Regions from separate parts of the Homo sapiens genome. Here region 2 is linked to region 1. Evidence: promoter capture Hi-C in human tissues and cell types (Jung and others, 2019). All regions are on one chromosome and are shown on one strand. The core of a region is centred on a gene start or on the middle of the fragment in contact, and the rest is flanking DNA. Distances in the headings are between cores, read along the strand shown. Region 1 holds the start of NKX2-4 (NK2 homeobox 4). Region 2 overlaps LINC01726 (long intergenic non-protein coding RNA 1726).

The links. The method cuts DNA at HindIII sites, captures the fragments that hold promoters and counts their contacts. A contact is called where the count stands out against the background at its distance.
Region 2: a contact is called between a fragment that was not itself captured here and the fragment with the promoter of NKX2-4 in region 1, in 1 of the 25 tissues and cell types used here (mesendoderm cells).

Annotation. Positions count from the first base shown.
Region 1 is chr20:21,395,529-21,399,689 of GRCh38, reverse strand. It overlaps NKX2-4 (NK2 homeobox 4), which reads left to right and starts at 2,164. Exons shown (of 2, transcript NM_033176.2): 1 at 2,164-2,732; 2 at 3,157-4,161. The coding sequence starts at 2,291. The coding sequence ends at 3,779. It overlaps LOC105372558 (a long non-coding RNA gene), which reads right to left and starts at 1,756. Exons shown (of 4, transcript XR_001754528.1): 1 at 1,114-1,756; 2 at 324-427. The HindIII fragment of the contact is 9,137 bases long and covers 1-4,161 here.
Region 2 is chr20:21,692,288-21,696,707 of GRCh38, reverse strand. The region is part of intron 1 of LINC01726 (long intergenic non-protein coding RNA 1726); the gene reads left to right. Among named protein-coding and RNA genes, the nearest start is that of LINC01726, 9.1 kb to the left of the region's middle. The HindIII fragment of the contact is 5,954 bases long and covers 1-4,420 here.

The sequences.
Region 1 (4,161 bases), core at 915-3,414:
TCATCTGGAAAAAATTAAAATTGTAAACACTTTTCAACTTGGACAACTAATCAATATGGAGATTATGATAATGCGTTTCATATTTGAAATACGTTTGAACTTGAAAAATAAAATATAATGGGCCACAAATAACTTTTATATTCACAGATGTCATAACACAACTATTTTTTACTTACCCTGTTGTCTCTGAGAAACATTTGAAATGACTATTATTTTATTTAAGCTAATACATACAAGTAAACAATACAATTTAAACTAAACCGGAAACGTAAAATTCAAACTGTAGTTTTCAGAAGGATCCCAGCAAGTGTTTAAATACATACATAAGTGCTTCTTTGTGTATCATTAGTTTGTTTTTCTTAAGTAGGTAATTCCAGTGCAGGTGAGGATGAAGACCTAGCCGATGTGTTTCAAGTTCATAAAAGACCTGTAAAAGTAGCATCGTGTTAAAACTGTAGCAATATTAATCTTGCTAAGTCAATACTGATGTTTGTAAACAATTCCTGTAACCTTGCATTTTATTTTTACAGTATATTAAAACATTACTCTTAACATTCGTCTGTCACTTCCTTCCCACAGGTGACCTATGGCTTTTTCCCCCCTAGAAAGGGCAGATTCTTTGCAAAACCATACTGAGTTGAACAAAACAATTATTAAAATCCTAAGAACAAAACCATGGAGAACATTTCCACCAAAGGGCTAAAACCAAACAGAAAAAGGAATATGTAACACTGTTCTTGCCTTCAAGACATGTACTGTCAGGTTAAACTTAAATCGATTCCACACACCCTTTTCTGGAAAAAAAATAAAACAAAATATTGCTTAAGAAAGCACTCTCCTTGTTTTTCTTTCTCCTGCTCCAGTTTCCAGGAAAACTTAAAAGTGTTATCTTTGTTTTCTCGTTATCATTATTATTGCTGCAAGATTGTTTTCAAAATTTAATCAATATGCTTTGCACACTGCTTTTGTCTTATGCTTTGTCTTGTTCAGTATTTAGTAGAGAGTTCATAATGTCTAAGTATTCGGGTAAAACTGCAAGTCAAAGGATGACAAAGTTTTAAAAATCTGTTTATCTATGGTTTTGTATTTTTCCAAAGAAACTACAATTTTCACCTGATTTCTGCATCCATTTTCATATCGCTTGAACAGGTTATATTTTTCCAACAACAACAAAAAGACCCGTTGCGAACAACTAGAAATATTTGGAAGTTTTGATATTTTGTCTTTCTCTTCTTTTTGATCACGGTAGTGATGGGAGAATAAACTTAAGTCAGAGATATTTACTGAGAGAAAGAGAGTAAGAACACACACAAAGGGAAAGAAAGCAGAAAAAACTTTACAAGTGCAAACTCAGTAGGAAACATTTTAGGAAATAAAAATGTTCCCCCTCTTTCCCTTGTTCAATTTCCATCCCCACAGAGGAAAAACAGAATACTTACAAGTTAGCATCTGCGTATTTATCAGTGTATGTGTGTTTTCTCTCTTCTCTGGGCTTGGATACTTTGAGCTAATTTGGAAGTGCCCGTTTGGTTGCCCACAAAATGATGCTTAAGGGTCTAAAAACGCATAAATTAGGGAGCCCTACAATGGCAAAGGACGGTCATTGTACCTCCTCTCTTTATGCGCTCTTACGGTGGGACCCAAGAGCCTTTTTTTTTTTTTTTAACACTTTAGGTGATGGAGCGAATGAGGGGCTGATAACTGGAGAGGACGAAGCAAGCCCCCGCAACACCCTCCCCCCAAACTTAGCAGCACGTTCCCCATTCCGCAATTATACCGGACTTTGGTGCGAAGTCACTTTAGAAAACTGGGATCTGGAAGGGGCCAGGCGCGGAGTCCATGTCTAGCCTCGACGCCAGCCTCCGAGTTTCTATTTCTGGTGCTCGAGGGCTGGGGTAACGGCCGCGGATGGAGGAGCGAAGGATGGGAAAAGCAAAGGATGGGAAAAGCAAAGATGGGAAAAGCAACGGGGAGTGATCTTTCCAAGAAACACCCAACTGCCCCTTTTACCTTTTTTTGCCTCCATTATGGGGCGGGGGTTGGGGGGGCGAGAGAAAAAGATGTCAATGACCATTGTTTGCTCGTTTGGGATGTTGCTCCGCCCCCCGAGTCTGTCGTAAACCTGGCGCCGGACTAAAATAAACCCCAGATCCCGCAGCCCGGGGGGCTCGCCGAGCCGCCGACTCCTCGTCACAGGCTCAGCTGCCGCGGCCGAGGTGGCGGCGACGAGCGGCCGCCGCGTCCTGCCGGCGCGCGCCCCAGGCCCCCCTACCTGGCTGCCCGCCGAGCCATGTCGTTGAGCCCAAAGCACACGACGCCCTTCTCCGTGTCCGACATCCTGAGCCCCATCGAGGAGACCTACAAGAAGTTCAGCGGCGCCATGGACGGCGCGCCACCCGGCCTGGGGGCGCCCCTGGGGGCCGCGGCCGCCTACCGCGCGCCGCCACCTGGGCCCTCCTCGCAGGCGGCGACCGTGGCGGGCATGCAGCCTTCTCACGCCATGGCGGGTCACAACGCGGCGGCCGCGGCGGCGGCGGCAGCAGCTGCGGCGGCGGCGGCCGCCACCTACCACATGCCGCCCGGCGTCTCGCAGTTCCCGCACGGCGCCATGGGCAGCTACTGCAACGGCGGCCTGGGCAACATGGGCGAGCTGCCCGCCTACACGGACGGCATGCGGGGCGGCGCGGCCACCGGCTGGTACGGCGCCAACCCGGACCCACGCTACTCGTCAAGTGAGAGGGGCCAGGAGCGCGGGGCTGCGGGCGGCTCAGGCGTTTCCCGCCACAGCCGAGGGGCGCGGGGGCGCGGGACGGGGTGCGCGCGGCTTAGGAGGTCCTGGGGCCGAGCGGGCGCGCGGGGCGTCCTGGGACGCGGCCCGGGACGCGCGGGGTTTCTGGGGACCCTGGGCGCGCGGGGGGTCCTGGGACCTGACCGGGAACGCGCGCGGCGTCCTGGGACCCGTTGAGGGCGTGGTGCTCTGGGACCCGCCGAGGGCGCGCGGGGCGTGCTGGGGCCGGAGGCCGCGGCGGTCAGGGGGTCTTGGGATTCAGCGAGGGCCCGGCGGCGTCGCGGCCGCGGCGTGAAGAGAGCGGCGGCTGGACCGGCTCCCGGCGGGCCTGGAGCTCACTCGCCTTCCCCCTTGGGACTCTTCCCCAGTCTCCAGGTTCATGGGGCCGTCGGCGGGCGTGAATGTGGCCGGCATGGGGTCGCTGACCGGCATCGCGGACGCCGCCAAGTCGCTGGGCCCGCTGCACGCGGCGGCGGCGGCAGCCGCTCCGCGAAGGAAGCGCCGCGTGCTCTTCTCGCAGGCGCAGGTCTACGAGCTGGAGCGGCGCTTCAAGCAGCAGAAGTACCTGTCGGCGCCCGAGCGCGAGCACCTGGCCAGCATGATCCACCTGACGCCCACGCAGGTCAAGATCTGGTTCCAGAACCACCGGTACAAGATGAAACGGCAGGCCAAGGACAAGGCGGCGCAGCAGCTGCAGCAGGAGGGCGGCCTGGGCCCGCCGCCGCCTCCGCCGCCGTCCCCGCGCCGCGTGGCGGTGCCTGTGCTGGTCAAGGACGGCAAGCCGTGCCAGAACGGCGCCAGCACGCCCACCCCCGGCCAGGCCGGTCCGCAGCCGCCGGCCCCGACGCCAGCACCTGAGCTGGAGGAGCTGTCGCCCAGCCCACCCGCGCTGCACGGCCCGGGGGGCGGCCTGGCGGCCCTGGACGCGGCCGCCGGGGAGTACAGCGGCGGCGTCCTGGGCGCCAACCTGCTCTATGGCAGGACGTGGTGACAGCGAGGGCGCCCCGGGGCTAGGTCCTGGTGCACCCGAAGGGTCTGCAAGAAACTGCTAGAACGGATGGGGGAGGCATGCGAAAACCGACTCGCGCGTGTAAACTGCGATTCAAAACGAACCGGTCTCAGAGAGGAGCAGGCTGTGAACCTCTTGCTGGGGGCGGGGGACAGCGACAGCCCGGAAACCGAGTAGTGTAACATTATGCCACGAGGCTTTGAGGTGGTGATTTTCTCCTCCTAGAAGTTCTTAAATGACGCGAAAAGGTGGAGAAGTTCACACGGCATTCTTAACTACAGCTCTCAAAGTTGGAAACTTTGTTGGCGTTTGTAACTATAAAAATCAACCCAGCTTTAACAATCAGTCCTTTTTGAAGTGGAAT
Region 2 (4,420 bases), core at 446-2,945, 300 kb before region 1:
TTTATAGGTCAAAAAATGCATATGCACCTCGAACTCAGAAAACCACCTGGCTACAGAAAAGTACAATATGGACAAGTCCAGCCATTTTTTTTAGCTCAAAAGTCCTCAGGCTGAAATCCATGTTCTGGATTCCACCTCCTGAGGCTTAATCTCATGGATCTCATGGACCTCAGTGTTTTCATCTATATGATAGGGTCATGGCCAGGGCCAAATCACCTAACCACAGAAAACACTTGATGACAGGAGATGCTGAATCACTGGCCATTATTCTCATTACACTATTTTTCTATACTTTTTTTTTGAGACAAGGTCTTCCTCTGTCAAGCAGGATGAAGTGCAGTGGCACAAACACAGCTCACTACAGCCTCGACTTCCCAGGCTCAAGCCATCCTCCCACCTCAGCCTCCTGAGTAACTGGGACTACAGGTGCACGCCACCACATCTGGCTAATTTTTTAATTTTTTCTCTCGCCATGCTGCCCAGGCTGGTCTTGAACTCCTGGCCTCAAGAAATCCTCCTGTCTCAGCCTCTCAAAGTGCTGGGATTACAGGCATAAGCCACTATGCCCTGCTTATTTTTCTATACTTTTAAAAAACTAATACATTTTAATTTGTGTCTTTTTTTTTTCTGACGAAGTTTCTCTCTTGTTGCCCAGGCTAGAGTGCAATGGCATGACCTCAGCTCATCACAACCTCCGCCTCCCAGGTTCAAGTGATTCTCCTGCCTCATCCTCCCGAGTAGCTGGGATTACAGACATGCACGACCACGCCCAGCTAATTTTGTGTTTTTAGTAGAGATGGGGTTTCTCCATGTTGGTCAGGCTGGTCTCGAACTCCCGACCTCAGATGATCTGCCCACCTCGGCCTCCCAAAGTGCTGGGATTACAGGCGTGAGCCACTGCTCCCGGCCTTTGTGTCTCTTTTATAGGACATCTGTTAAACATGCAGTGAATGATTTGCCAATAGAAATATGTACAAATCAAGCCATCTTAAATTGAGTCTCGAGAAGAAAACAGCCCTATTTTTCTGAGTTTCCATTAGCTTGTCATGTTCTTCCTTGGTTCAGAAGCACTTCACAGGGCTGCATTCAAGACCCTGAAGTGACACTCACTAGGGAAACAGGGTTAGCAGCGTCTGTTGCCAATAGAAGATGAGTGATGGAGGTGGTGAGTGACAGCTATACGCTCTCCAGTTTCAGAAAGCTGAGGAAGACGGCAATCCACAGCTGGCCAGGTATTTTCCTGTACCATGGGAGAACTATGGTTCTTCCTGAGGCCCAGTCCTCTTGAAATGCTGGGCCCTGTGCTAAACAGGTATCACCGGCTTGTTCTGGCTAAACCCACTGTAACATCAAGCTCTTCCTTTGCCAGAAAGAAGAAGATATTTTACTTCTGTGTTTACTGTTATGCTTTTTTGTCCTGAGTGTGGTTTTTCCCCTTCCTTGTTTGCCTTCTGAACATGTTCTTTCACCAGGAGCTCCCTCAGGGAATGGGCCCAGTCCCTTACAAATCAAGCCTGGGCTTGGGGTTCAGGGACTGGCTCTCTGAGCAGGCCTTTGCTTGTGACAAGCGTTCCTGACTAAGGAACAGTGAGACTTGACTCTTCCATTTATCCCAAATTACCATTTTTCAAAAAATTCACGCCTCTCTTGGGTTGCCCCCATCTATAACTTCTCCGCAATCCCTGAGGTGCCTGATGTCTAAGATTTTAGTGAAGTGACATCTTCTATTATGAAAATGTTGTACTCTTGGGATAAGCAGGCTCCTAGTTATTCGTCCTTATTAATGCGGTGGAGTGCTGTAGGGAGCTCATGGCCTCTGTTCACCATGAGGTTGGGCAGCTGTGTATTGTAGCTAACGTTGCCCAGCATGCCCAGATCCCCCCACCAGCACTGAGACGCTCATTCCCTCAAGGCTGGTGGCTCACAGCAGAGCCTCCTTTCCATTGCCTTAGGCTAAAGAGAACCATAAAACCCAAGCAAACACCCCCTTCCTGGGGACCACTCACTGTGGGGTACAAAAGCTTCAATGGAGGACAACTCTGAGGACCATCCCAGCACCAGAGCTCCACGGAAGATCAGCTTGGATCTGTTTTGCTACTGCATCACAGTCAGACTTCTCTCCTGGTCAGCCCTGCTCCTCATCCCTCACAGGCATCAATCTCCATAACTCTTCCCAGTACACCAGCTGCCTGCCGGGAAATCCAGCCCATGCCATGCCAACCATGTGGGTTTGTTATAACAGTTTTGTTGCTGCAAAGATGAAGGCATGGAGATAAAATCATTGCTACCCAATCACACAGAGATTTCTATCTCTGTGGCTCCAGCCACAGCCCCCATGCCCTGGCAGGAGGAATTATTCTGAGAAAGTGGGAGTTCTTGCCCAAAGGAAATGATTTAGCCTGTGGTGCCCCAAGAGCAAGGAGGGGACAGGCTGAGCTACAGCAGGGCCACGTCAGAGTTAGGTTAACATCGGGTCTCTTAGAATCTCAGCAGCAAGAGAAAGGCAACGAATATGGAGGTGGGAGGGCTCTGTGACAAATGCAGCGATTTAAGAATGTGGTCTGGCTCTGTTTCCAGCACATGTAGATTTCTGAAATGGAAAAGCGACAGAACTTCCTAGGGACCCCACAAATTAGAACTTGGGAACATAAACTATGTTGGTGGGCTCATACCAGCTCTAAAAAATAGCTTCATTGAGCAAATTAATCAAGTCATTTTGATCACAAGGAAAACCCACATCTGCTGAGAAATAAATGATTTTCAGACCCTTTAAGAGGTGATGTTAACGTGTAATCCATTTGAGCAAATATAAAGTTCATTCTTTCTACAGTCGACACCCGCTGGTGAGGCAGGGCGAGAGGCAGTTTTTGCCTTTGAGGACTTTGTGTTCTGCTCACCTGCTTCTTAAACTTGGATGTGCCTCTCCTTTTAGTACTTGGCAGTGGGATGGAGGAAGGGCCCACCACAGGAAAGCACGTCTTCCTGAAATCTCAACCTCACCTAATGATTTTGGAAAATAACATTATTTTGATATCAAAACAAGTGTAAACTCTTCCTGGCGCAGGATAGAAATTTTTGTCCATTTGAAGGACAGAATAGAAAACATTTAAAAATGCCGCCCTGGTTGTCTAGAACAGGTTGAGGTCCCTTTCCGGAGTGGCAGGGCATTTACCTCTGGGAACCAGGAGGGGGTGCTGTAGCAGAATACTTTGAGCCCCACTGTAAGCAGAAACAAGGTGAACACACATTTCTGAGACTGAGGAGGCCAGGGGCCGCCAAAGAATACGGGGCATTTCAGGAAGGAATTGGCATCTCAGACGGACCTTGACCAATGGGTGGAGTTTGACAGGCGGAAGTCCAGAGGCCAAAGGAAGGACAGGAAACGTCTCCCTGGGAAAGCAAAGGTGGTCGCAGAGGTAAAGTCACAGGAAAGCAGGCTTGAGACAGTTTGGCTCAAGAAAGGAGCTGGGCAGTGTGGGATGTGGTGGCGCGGAGAGCAGGAAAGAGGGTTGAAGTTGATCACTCATGAGCCCAAAAGGCAGGTTAAAGTGCGGTTACTGAATTGAGGGGGGCATCCAGCGAGGGGAGAGGCCCAAGTCCTGGGAGGTGGAACATTGACTTCAGCCTGAAGAGGCCTCCTGACTCACCCACTTGCATCCTGTGACCCAGGCAAGTCATCTAACCTCCAGACATCAGTTTTTCCATCTGGAAAATGAAGTCACAACAGAACCCATTTTGTGAGGATGGCCAACAATTAAATGAGATGAAAAAGATAAGGAGTTTGGTACAATGTCAGCTGCATAACAAGTGCTCAATAAATGATTGTTATTATAATAATATTATATAGCTATAATAGATGACAATTTTCATATAATACATAATTGTTATCATGGTTTTCAAGACTAACCATGAGGGTACTGAGAAATCAAGAGGAAGCCAGATGAGCTGTGAGCTCGGAATGCCAAGAGAGGAAAGATGCTCGGACAGACTTCCTTGCTTGGCTAACTGTGAGACGATCTTAGCTATTCACTAAGGCAGAATTTCTGCAAGCCTTAGCCTGCTGGCATCCTAGATATTCCTCCCTGGAAAGCAACAAAGCCTCATTTTTAAAATCTCTTCTGAGTTGAGTTGCACTTTCACAATGTTATTCCTCTCTGTGCTCCCACCCTAAAACACTCAGTCTTGGGAGCAACCCCTGGAAATCAAAGCAGCCCTTGGAGGATGGCCTTGAGGGGTCGGACCGCAGAGGGAAGCAAAGGCAGGAGTCAAGGAGCCCAGTCAAGGGCCCCCGTGGGCTTCAGTGGGGGAGGACTGTGGGCAGAATCACCTGTTTGCTTCCTTTAACTTTGACTTTCAGACACCAACTTCTCCGCCATTGTCTGTCTTCTGGGTCTCTGCCCAGCTGCTAGTAACTGGGGGT